Regions from separate parts of the Homo sapiens genome. Here region 1 is linked to region 2. The links are contacts of gene promoters, found by promoter capture Hi-C in human tissues and cell types (Jung and others, 2019). All regions are on one chromosome and are shown on one strand. Each heading gives the region's core, a stretch centred on a gene start or on the middle of the fragment in contact. The rest is flanking DNA. Distances are from core to core; before and after follow the strand shown. Region 1 has its middle 130 kb from the start of SYT6. Region 2 holds the start of AP4B1 (adaptor related protein complex 4 subunit beta 1).

Region 1 (4,812 bases), core at 2,256-4,755, 380 kb after region 2:
AGATGTAGATAGCAGCTTTATTTGCAGTTGTCAAAAGCTGTCCTTCAGTAGGTGAGTGGATAAATAGACTGTGGTACATCGAGAAAATGAAATATTATTCAAGGCTAAAAATAAATGAGCTATCAAGTCATGAAAAGACATGGGTAAATTTAAATGTATATGACTAAGTGAAAGAAGTCAATCTGAAAAGACTACACATACTGTACATTTCCAACTATATAACAGTCTGGAAAAGACAAAACTATGGAAACAGTTAAAAAAAAGTGGTTGCTAGGGGTTACAGGGAGGGAGGGATGAATAGGTGGAGCACAGATAATTTTTAGGGCTGCGAAACTATTCTCTACGATATTATAATGGTGGATACATGTCATTATGCATTTGTCCAAACCCATAGAATGTACAACACCAAGAGTAAACTCTAATGTAAACTATGAACACTAGGTGATAACGATATGACAGTGTACTCTGGTGTACTCTGTATAGGGTGTACTCTGGTGGGGGATGTTGATAATGGGGGAGGCTGTGCATGTTTCGGGGAAGAAGGTATGGGATATTTCTGAGCCTTCCTCTCAGTCTTGCTGTGAACCTAAAACTACTCTTTAAAAAACTAGTCTTAAAATTAAAAAACAGGCCAGGTGCGGTGGTTCACACCTATAATCCCAGCATTTTGGGAGGCCAAGGAGGGTGTTTTAGTCTGTTCTCGCGCTGCTGATAAAGACATACCCGAGACTGGGTAATTTATAAAGAAAAAGAGGTTTAATGGACTCACAGATCCACGTGGCTAGGGAGGCCTCACAGTCATGGCAGAAGGTGAAAGGCACATCTTATATGGCAGCAGGAAAGAGAAAATGAGAGCCAAGCAAAAGGGGAAACCCCTTATAAAACCATCAGCTCTTGTGAGACTTATTCACTACCACGAGAACAGTATGGGGGAAACCGCCCCCATGATTCAATTATCTCCCACAACACGTGGGGATTATGGAAGCTACAATTCAAGGTGAGATTTGGGTGGGGACACAGCCAAACCACATCTCGGGGGTTGCAAGAATAGCCTGAGCCCAGGAGTTTGAGACCAGCCTGGGCAACATGGCAAAACCCCATCTCTACAAAAAATTAGCCAGGTGTGGTGGCATGCGCCTGTAGTCCCAGCTACTCAGGAGGCTGAAGTGGGAGGATCACATGAGCCCAGGGAGTTGGAGGATCACCTGAGCCTGGGGAGGTGAAGGCTGCAGTGAGCTGTGATCCCACCACTGCACTCCAGCCTTGACAACAGAGCAAGGCACCATGTCAAAAAACAAAGTGTGCCCAGGTCACACACACAAAAAAAACTGCACTGCCTCTGCCAGAAAGACATCAACTGTAACAATAATCTGATGATAATGATGATAGTAACAAGTAATAAACAGGTAAATAAGGGCAGCTACAGAGAGCAGAGTGCAAGGTAGAAGTGCTTAGGCCCTAATTTAGGCAGACCTGCCTCCACCACTGACACTGTGACCTCAGGCAAGTTCCTTAACTTCTCTCAGCTGCAGAGTCCTTGTCTGCATAGGGTAATAGTGAGGATAATAGGACCCCTCTTGCAAGTTTGTTTTGAGAGTTAGAAATAATATATGTAACATGCAGGACACAATCCCTGACAAATATTAGGTATTCAATCATGATAGCTCTAAAGCCGAAGTCGTAACTCTGAACTACTTCATACTTTTAGAGTTACCTACATTTGGATAGCAAAAATTTGTTGTTGTTGTTGTTGTTGTTGTTATTGTTGTTTTTAATGGCAGATCAAACAGCTGGTTGCTAGCCAGGACGATGGGAGAGAGTTCAAAACCGAGTACTGCTGGGAGGGTTGACAGTCCCTTGCAACTAAGGCCTTGGGACTCAAATGAGTGCTGGAGCTCCCCCTGCAGGCAGAGTTGGGTGTGTGTTAGTAGGATGTGGGTACAGCGTAAATGAGCCACACAGAGCCGGCTTAAAACCCAGCATGCTTCTCTGCTTGGTTTGTGTTTTTCTATTAAAAAAATAGTATTACTTATTCAGCCAGATTTGCACAACATTTGCTAAAATTACTATATTTACTATACTTATATCACTATATTTGATTAGATGGCACATGATTTAGAACGAGTTTTTTTAAATGCCAATTCTATGAGCTAAATAGCTAGCTTTCTCATTAACCTTGGGTATTAATCAGTGCTTTTTTTTTTTTTTTTTACCCATTTCTTGGCTTATCAGAACCCAGTTTTCCATCTCTCAAAACCACTTGCATTATTTCTATGTCACAAGTATGGAACAAGCATTTATTGAACACTAACTCTGTACAAAAACATTACACTAAAAGCTCAGGAGAACACAAAGAATATGGACGGATTCCTACCCGCTAAGACCTTTTAATGTAGTTGTGAAGACAAAATATACACATATGAAATGGTGAAGTCACGAGCAAGAAAATGATGACATGTGGGCTTGTCCATGCTAGGGCGCATATTCCACACAACTCTCCACCCCATTCCCAATACTTAGCACAGTTTATGGCACAGCATAGGGACTTAACAGGCATTTAGTGAAAAACTAAATAGCATGATGATGACAGAGAACAGGGAACAAATACTGAATGACTATAAGAGAAAACCACACTTTTCTGCCTCATTTTTCTCCTTAACATTTGCAACCTTCTAACACACTGTCATTTATTTCATCATTTGTCTCCCCTCTTTAAATGTGAGTGTTCTGAGCAGAGAGTTTGCCTGTTTTATTCACTGCATATCCACAGAACATAGGTTTGTGTCTGGAACATCATGGTCACCCAATATGTGTGTGTGTGTATATATATATATACACACACACGTATATATATACACACACACACACACACGCGTATATATATACACGTATATATACATACACACACATATATATATACACGTGTACATATATTGAGTGAATGAGTGAATAAATGAATATTTCAGCCATAATTTCTTAAGTATTTATACATAAGTGATATTGAGATTCCTGAAATCTTGTGGAATTTCAGTGTCAGGATTAACCACAGGATGAAATACCAAAAATGTACCGGGTGTTTGTTACAGCTTTGTTTATAATAATGACAAATTGGAAACAATTTAAAAGAAAAGAATGGCTATATTTAATATTACACCTCTATAATGGAATCTCTATAATGGAATGGCACATCTGTATAATGGAATATCATAATTCCATTAAATATAGCAACATCAATCTATATGCTTTTGGAAAGGTTGCTTTTTTTCAGAACAATTGTGGGGGGCTAGAACAGAAAAAAGTCTGGAGGGATTTACACAGAATGTTATCACCAGGTGGCAGAATTAAGAGTGGAATTTTCATTTCCTTCTTTAAGCCTTTTCATATTGTCTGATTTTTTAAAATAATAATGATATGCATGCATTATTTTAAAATCAGAAGAAAATAAAGGTATCTTTATTTTTGAAAAGACATTGTCTGGGGCTTCTGTCTTGCAACCATGCTGGGAGTGTGGAACGACCTGCCTGGGTTCCGATGTGGTCCTGTGCTCATCACCTTCCCACACCTGCTGCCCTGCACCATTCCCAGGGGCTCCTCTGTGACATAAATTTTAGTTGACCATAACTGATCCAGCTAGTCTGGGATTATCAATTTCAGATGGTGGTCAAATTTAACAGCTAGTGGTTATTACAGAGGGCTACCTTTCCATCTTTCTTCTTGATGAAGACTGCCCTGGATTGCCAACTAAACTTTCATCAGTGATAGCCTGTGAACCATTGTCTAAAGTCCTGACAGCAAGGTTCTGTGCCCCTATCTTCCACCCCTAAGGGATCAACTAGAGAGGCCCATCACTGTGTTGATAAGAGGAGAGTTAGAGAGAAGCTTTGGCAAGGATGAGTATGTCTTGGAAGTCACAGTAATTAGGGGTTGGAGGGAAACAAACCATATTCCCCTTACCAGGGGCTGTGCTGGTAACATTAAGTGTCTTGCAGGCTTATGGTAAAAGTTCCAAACAACAACTCCTTCATGCTGGTTCTGGTTTAATTACCAACATTTGGAACTAGAGGTGAAACTAGGTATTCTCCTTTAGAGGAGAATAGTGTATAGTGTTTGCTGGTCCAGAGATCTGAGATGGTGCAGCCAGTGGGAAGGAGGAATAGCATGGACTTTTGCAGTCAAGTTATTGACTTTGAAAAAGGTCTTAAATTTTCTGAACTTAGTTCTTTCATCCACAAAATTGTGTTATTGATATATACTTTACATCATTTTAATGAATACAGGAGATTATGTAAGATTATAAAATCCTAACTAGTGCATGGCACACAGTAGGCATTAAGCAAATGTTAATTCTTCTATCAATGTCTATTATGGCTATTAAGAAAAGGGGAGAGGGACAAGATATTGAGATCCCACTAAGTGCCAGGCACTCTCCTGAATCCTGTGCTTACATCATGTTCTCACAACTCGGTATTACTGTGCAAATACCCACTGCACAGATGAGGCCCACAACAGCTAAGTGACTTGCCCAAGATCACGGCAACATGTGACAGAGCTGGTGTTCGAGTCCAAATCTGTCTGCTCCCAAATCCCATTTCTATAAACTATATTTAAGTTGTTCTACTTAGAATAAATTGTATGAGGTCCCGTTATTTTCTGGAGGGAGAAGTGCCAACCCTCTAAGTAGGTGTGGTCAAAGTCCAATTTTACATTAGCCATGAAGTTCTCTCCCATTATTCAGCTGGGGACTGAATATAAGTAAATAATGCTTGATAATAACAGTAGCTCACATTTTTTGACAACTTACTATGTATCAGG
Region 2 (5,467 bases), core at 1,970-4,469:
GGGGCCCCAGAGAAAGGACTTCTCATCTCCAGAAGATACCAAGCCCTGCATCCTACTTAAAGAGATATGTACAGAACTGGGGCCACATTATTATTTTCTACCAAAGCCACACAATCTTTTTTAAAGTTATACATAATGGAGGCACATTGACCATGATGGATTACACTGAACTTACCTACTTCAGAGTCTCCATGAAGATTATGCATCTTGGCACATCCAAGGACTGCCACTCTCCTGACATATGAAGCCTTATCCCGCAGACCATTGAGAATAGGCTGTTGTATATACTCCTGCACACCAGGCATCCTAAGCAACACATCCTGGAGTTAGCCAGATTCTGAAATACTAATTTTGACATACCTCAGCCCCTGTTCACCTAACAGATGGTTTAGTAGATGCTGCACCCATCAGATCATGAAGAATTGCAGAAAGCCTCTATCAAGCTTAAAAAGCCATAATTTGACTTTTCTGTTTTTTTCTTGTTTTTTTCAAGATGGGGTCTCACTTTGTCACCCAGTGGCCCGATCATAGCTCACTGCTGCCTTGAATTCCCGGGCCCAAGCCATCCTCCTGCCTCAGCCTTCCTAGTAGCTGAGACTACAGGTGCGTGTCACCATGCCCATTTAATTTTTTGTAGATATAGGCTCTCACCATCTTGCCCAGCTGGTCTCAAATTCCTGGGCTCAAGCAATCTTCCTGTCTAAGCCTCCCAAAGTGCTGGGTCTACAGGCATGAGCCACTGTGCCCAGCCTAATTTGACTTTTCATTTGGAATAATGATGCACAGGCAGCAAAAAAAGATATACACATAATTGTTTAGAGATATTTAACCAAAACTGAGGACTATTTTACTTAGAGTGAGAATCAAAAACTCCCTCTAATAAAATTATATGATACAGGTTATTAAGCCAAAGCAGTGGCTGAAAATCTGAGTTCAGGGTACAATAATGTTTTCCCCAGTATTAAGGAGCTCAAATAAATTATCCTCTTTAAAAACCTACCCTGTGATCACTTGAATTCATCAGCCATTTAGGACCAGACAGAGAAGAGGGTACTCACCTGAGGCTACACATGCTCCGTAACGCCAGCCCTCGCACCATTGGATTGGGGTCTGAGCAGTCTTTGCACAGCGTATTGATGGCCAGGAGAGCCAGATCTGGTTTCAGGGGAGCATATGTGCACATGTACAGATAAACCAACTTCTTCTGGACAATATCTACAGTGGCACTGGCCTTCACCATTTCCATAAAAACACCAGACATGTCCAAGCCTTGAGTCATGTACCTGAACAACGCACATGACAGAAGGAAGTAAAATGCAAAATCCCCAACTTACAATGGAGGGAGTTTTACTTACATATCTCCTGATTACCCAACTAGATTGTGATCTCTTAGAGGGTAGCAGCCAGGATTACCTTGTCTATTATATCACACAGTACTTCATACCATAGGCCTACAATAAACATTATTCTTCTATTCATTCAACAAACACTTATTATTATTTTTGAGACAGAGTCTTGCTCTGTTACCCAGGCTAGAGTGCAGTGGCACAATCTCGGCTCATTATAAGCTCCGCTTCCCAGGTTCAAGCGATTCTCCTGCCTCAGCCTCCCGAGTAGCTGGGACTACAGGTGCGTGCCACCACGCCCAGCTAATTTTTGTATTTTTAGTAGAGACGGGGTTTCTCCATGTTGGCCAGGCTGGTCTCGAACTCCTGACTGCAGGTGATCCACCCGCCTTGGCCTCCCAAAGTGCTGGGATTACCAGCGTGAGCCACCGCACCCAGCCTCAACAAACACTTATTGAATCCCTAGTACTTTGGTGAAATTCAACTTTTACATCCAGGGACATGCTCTTGGGACATAATCTTGAAGAAGGTGTGGTCTCAAACCTCTAGGAACTTCAAATCTATTAATGAGCCAGATGAGAATACCGTTAATTACAGTATGATAGATAAGTACTTAAACAGAAGTATTGTACAAGGTGTAGAGGGGATTCAGAGGTCTGACACTGGCAGGAAGTCAGAAAATGTTTCTTCACAGAGGAAGTAATACTTTAGCTGAATGAGCAGGAGCTCACTAGGCAGATGTAATAGCAAGGTAAAGATACATGCTATGAGGTAAGTAGACATGAGCAGGAGCAGCACACATTTTTTTAAGAGTCTGTAGGTAGTTGAATTAACAGCTTGTTCCTTGGGTGCTGTGATAAGTTTGGACTTTATTGTTTCTCAGACTGGTCTCCTACTGGAACCAACTGAAATGTTTATTAAAAATACAGATTCCTGGGTTCCCTCCCACCCTACTGAAATCAGAATCAGTCCCTGGACTGGATGACAAAAAGCACCCCAAGGGATTTTTATGCATAGTAAAGTTTGTGAACCATAGCTGTAGGCAAGAGTTATGTGTTCAGGTATGTATAATGGAAAAATTCTGTCTCAAATGAGGCAAAGTGGCCTACTAGTAAGCTGCTGCAATTGCTTTATTGATGAAGGCCTGGACCAGAACAACAATGCTAATAAACAAGAGAGGATGGATATTTAGAATTATGAATTCAAACCATCTGACATAAGAAGTGAGAGATCAGGTGTCCTCAAGGTTGGCTCCCACGCATAGTCGGCTGCTGGTGGCATTCATCAACACAAATGTAAGCTGAACAGGTTTGAGGAAGACGGAAGAATGTCCGGGCTATTTCGGACATACTTTTGATAAACCACGCACGTGGAAATGCCAAGCAGGCAGTGGGATACGTGGGTCTGAAGCTAAAAAAGGAAGTCTGTACTAGCTATATTATAGATCCAAGAGTCACCAGTAATTGCTCAAGCCCGTGATATGGAGGAAACTACCCAGCTGAGTAAAAGATGCTGCAGAGGGGAGACTGACATGGTACTCCAAAGCAGCAGGACGAAGACCGAACCATATAACTGCCACGTGTGAAAGCTAATTCACCCTTTCAGAGAGACTGGGGCTAGTGAGCCCTGATGGGGATTGCAAAGGGAGCAGTTAGCACGCGAAGGGAGGTAGGTGATACCTAATCACTCGCTGGATGACATTCCGGTAGCGCAGCCTATCAGCTTGAATGTGAGGATTGCACAGAGCCTTCTTCAGCTCCTTCACCACGTCCTCGGAGCCAAGGTACGGCATCTTCCTAAGAGTCACAGGGCAGCTCCCACAGCTCCCACGGTAACTCGAGGGCTCCTTCTCGTCCTGATGTGGGAGCCTGAGTAAAGGAAATATGAGTCAGTGAAAATACAAAAGGCGAGATCTCGCCTCAGGCTCGGCTTCCGTAGGGCCGGCACGCTGGCCCTGACACACTTCCACGCCCTCCGCGACACCGCGAGCCCCACCCTAGGCTCTTCAGGCCCTACCGTCGGCCGGCAGGCCGTTCGCCCCGCCCACAGATCGCTCCCGCTACTTCTAGGTCCTCCGCCGGATTTCCAGCGCCGCGTCCGACTGACCGCAGACCCCTCCCTCTCCAGTTCCAGCCTTAATTCCCCCTCCACGCCGTTCTCATCGCGGATAGGCCCAATCTTGCTTTCTGCGGAAGTCCCGCCCCCTTGTCAAGAGACCAAACAGAAGACCGCTGCCGGTCTCCCCGCGAGCGAGCGCTAAGCGTAGTCCCGACTCCGACCTTAGGATGCCCTTCCCCCAACCTCTCACTCTCCAGGCGCAGCTGCGCGGCTCCCTCTGGTGGAGCTGCGGCGGGCAATCGGAAATCGGCTACTTTGGCCTGTCTCCTCCCTGCAGCGCGCGCTTTGAGTGCCCGGCTCGGCCTCCGCTCCCGCGCGGTTGGGAGTGTCCAGCGCCCTCCGCGATTTGGGCTCCAGCGGGCAGGGTGACTTCCTTTTTCTGCCCACTCTGGTAACTTATTGCTCTGCTGGGCTCTTTCCCTTAGGGTCTCTGGCCCTGTTCTTGCCCCAGCATGACTTTTATCGGGACGCCGTTGTGGAAGCCTCACGCAGGAGCCCTGCCCCCGTGGAGAAGATCCCACTGGTGACTCCAACCCTACCACCATGAATGGGGTCCTGATCCCCCATACGCCCATCGCAGTGGACTTCTGGAGCCTGCGCCGGGCTGGCACCGCACGTCTCTTCTTCTTGTCTCACATGCACTCGGACCACACCGTGGGCCTGTCTAGCACCTGGGCCCGGCCCCTCTACTGCTCCCCAATTACAGCCCACCTCTTGCATCGTCACCTACAGGTATGGGGCTGGAGTCGGTCTCCGAGAGCTGGTCCAGGCATCTGGGTTGGGACTTCAACCTGTCATTCTTGGAGTCATAGAATGGGGGCCACGAAAACTGATTTGGAAGTTGTTTGAACCCAAAAATGCATCTTTAACCCAGAATAGGAACGTGTTTTCGAAGTGACCAACTTGAGATAGTTAGCCATAAGTTGAGGAGATATTTTAATCCAGCCAAGGAAACTATTCCTACCTTTATAAGTAAGCTAGGCCGATGTTTCCCAAACTTGCCTTTTTTTTTTTTTTTTTTTTTTTTTTTTGAGACGGAGTCTCGCTCTGTTGCCCAGGCTGGAGTGCAGTGGCGCAATCTCGGCTCACTGCAGCCTCCGCCTCCCGGGTTCAAGCGATTCTCCTGTCTCGGCCTCCTGAGTAGCTGAGATTACAGGCGCACGCCACCACGCCCAGCTAATTTTTTGTATTTTTTGTGGAGACGGGGTTTCACCATGTTGGCCAGGCTGTTCTCTAACTCCTGACCTTAAGTGATCCGCCCGCCTCAGCCTCCCCAAGTGCTGGGATTACAAGCGTGAGCCACCACGCCCCGCCTAAACTTGCCTCATCTTAAGAATCCACCTAATGTGCTGGGTGGTTCTCCAGCTCTCTCCCCACCCCACCCTTAAGTCTCCAAGAGATTAAGATCAGGAGTAAGTTTGGGAATTGCTGACTAGACTGTTTGCTGAACTCTTTTTTTTTTTTTGAGATGGAGTCTCGCTCTGTCGCCCAGGCTGGAGTGCAGTGGCGCAAACTCGGCTCACTGCAAGCTCCGCCTCCCGGGTTCACGCCATTCTCCTGCCTCAGCCTCCCGAGTAGCTGGGACTACAGGCGCCCGCCACCACGCCTGGCTAATTTTTTTTGTATTTTTTAGTAGAGACGGGGTTTCACCGTGTTAGCCAGGATGGTCTCGATCTCCTGACCTCGTGATCCACCCGCCTCAGCCTCCCAAAGTGCTGGGATTACAGGCGTGAGCCACCACGCCCGGCCAGCTGAACTCTTAAATTGTACAAAGGGTGGGATGGGAAGTGGAAGGAGGAAGGGCAGATTGCTTGGGAATCCCCATTACAGCTTCTGCTCCCGGTGGCTCAGGATTTGGTCAGCTTTCCTGATTCATGTAAGGGATAGTCCCTGACCCGGGGAGGTAACGGAGAGGAGTCAGTGGTCACTGGGATGACTAACTGTTTTCTCAGGTATCTAAGCAATGGATCCAAGCCCTGGAGGTTGGTGAGAGCCATGTATTA

The links. Contacts are between HindIII fragments. The study calls those that stand out against the background at their distance.
Region 1: a fragment that was not itself captured here is called in contact with the fragment with the promoter of AP4B1 in region 2 in 2 of the 25 tissues and cell types used here (mesendoderm cells and thymus).

Annotation. Positions count from the first base shown.
Region 1 is chr1:114,281,096-114,285,907 of GRCh38, forward strand. No RefSeq gene overlaps it. Among named protein-coding and RNA genes, the nearest start is that of SYT6, 130 kb to the left of the region's middle. The HindIII fragment of the contact is 3,767 bases long and covers 1,623-4,812 here.
Region 2 is chr1:113,901,580-113,907,046 of GRCh38, forward strand. It overlaps AP4B1 (adaptor related protein complex 4 subunit beta 1), which reads right to left and starts at 3,220. Exons shown (of 10, transcript NM_001253852.3): 1 at 3,026-3,220; 2 at 1,059-1,283; 3 at 176-306. The coding sequence starts at 3,138. DCLRE1B (DNA cross-link repair 1B) reads left to right here and starts at 3,747. Exons shown (of 4, transcript NM_022836.4): 1 at 3,747-4,196; 2 at 5,417-5,467. The coding sequence starts at 4,008. RefSeq lists enhancers at 2,856-2,915, 2,996-3,555, 3,586-3,635. The HindIII fragment of the contact is 11,361 bases long and covers 144-5,467 here.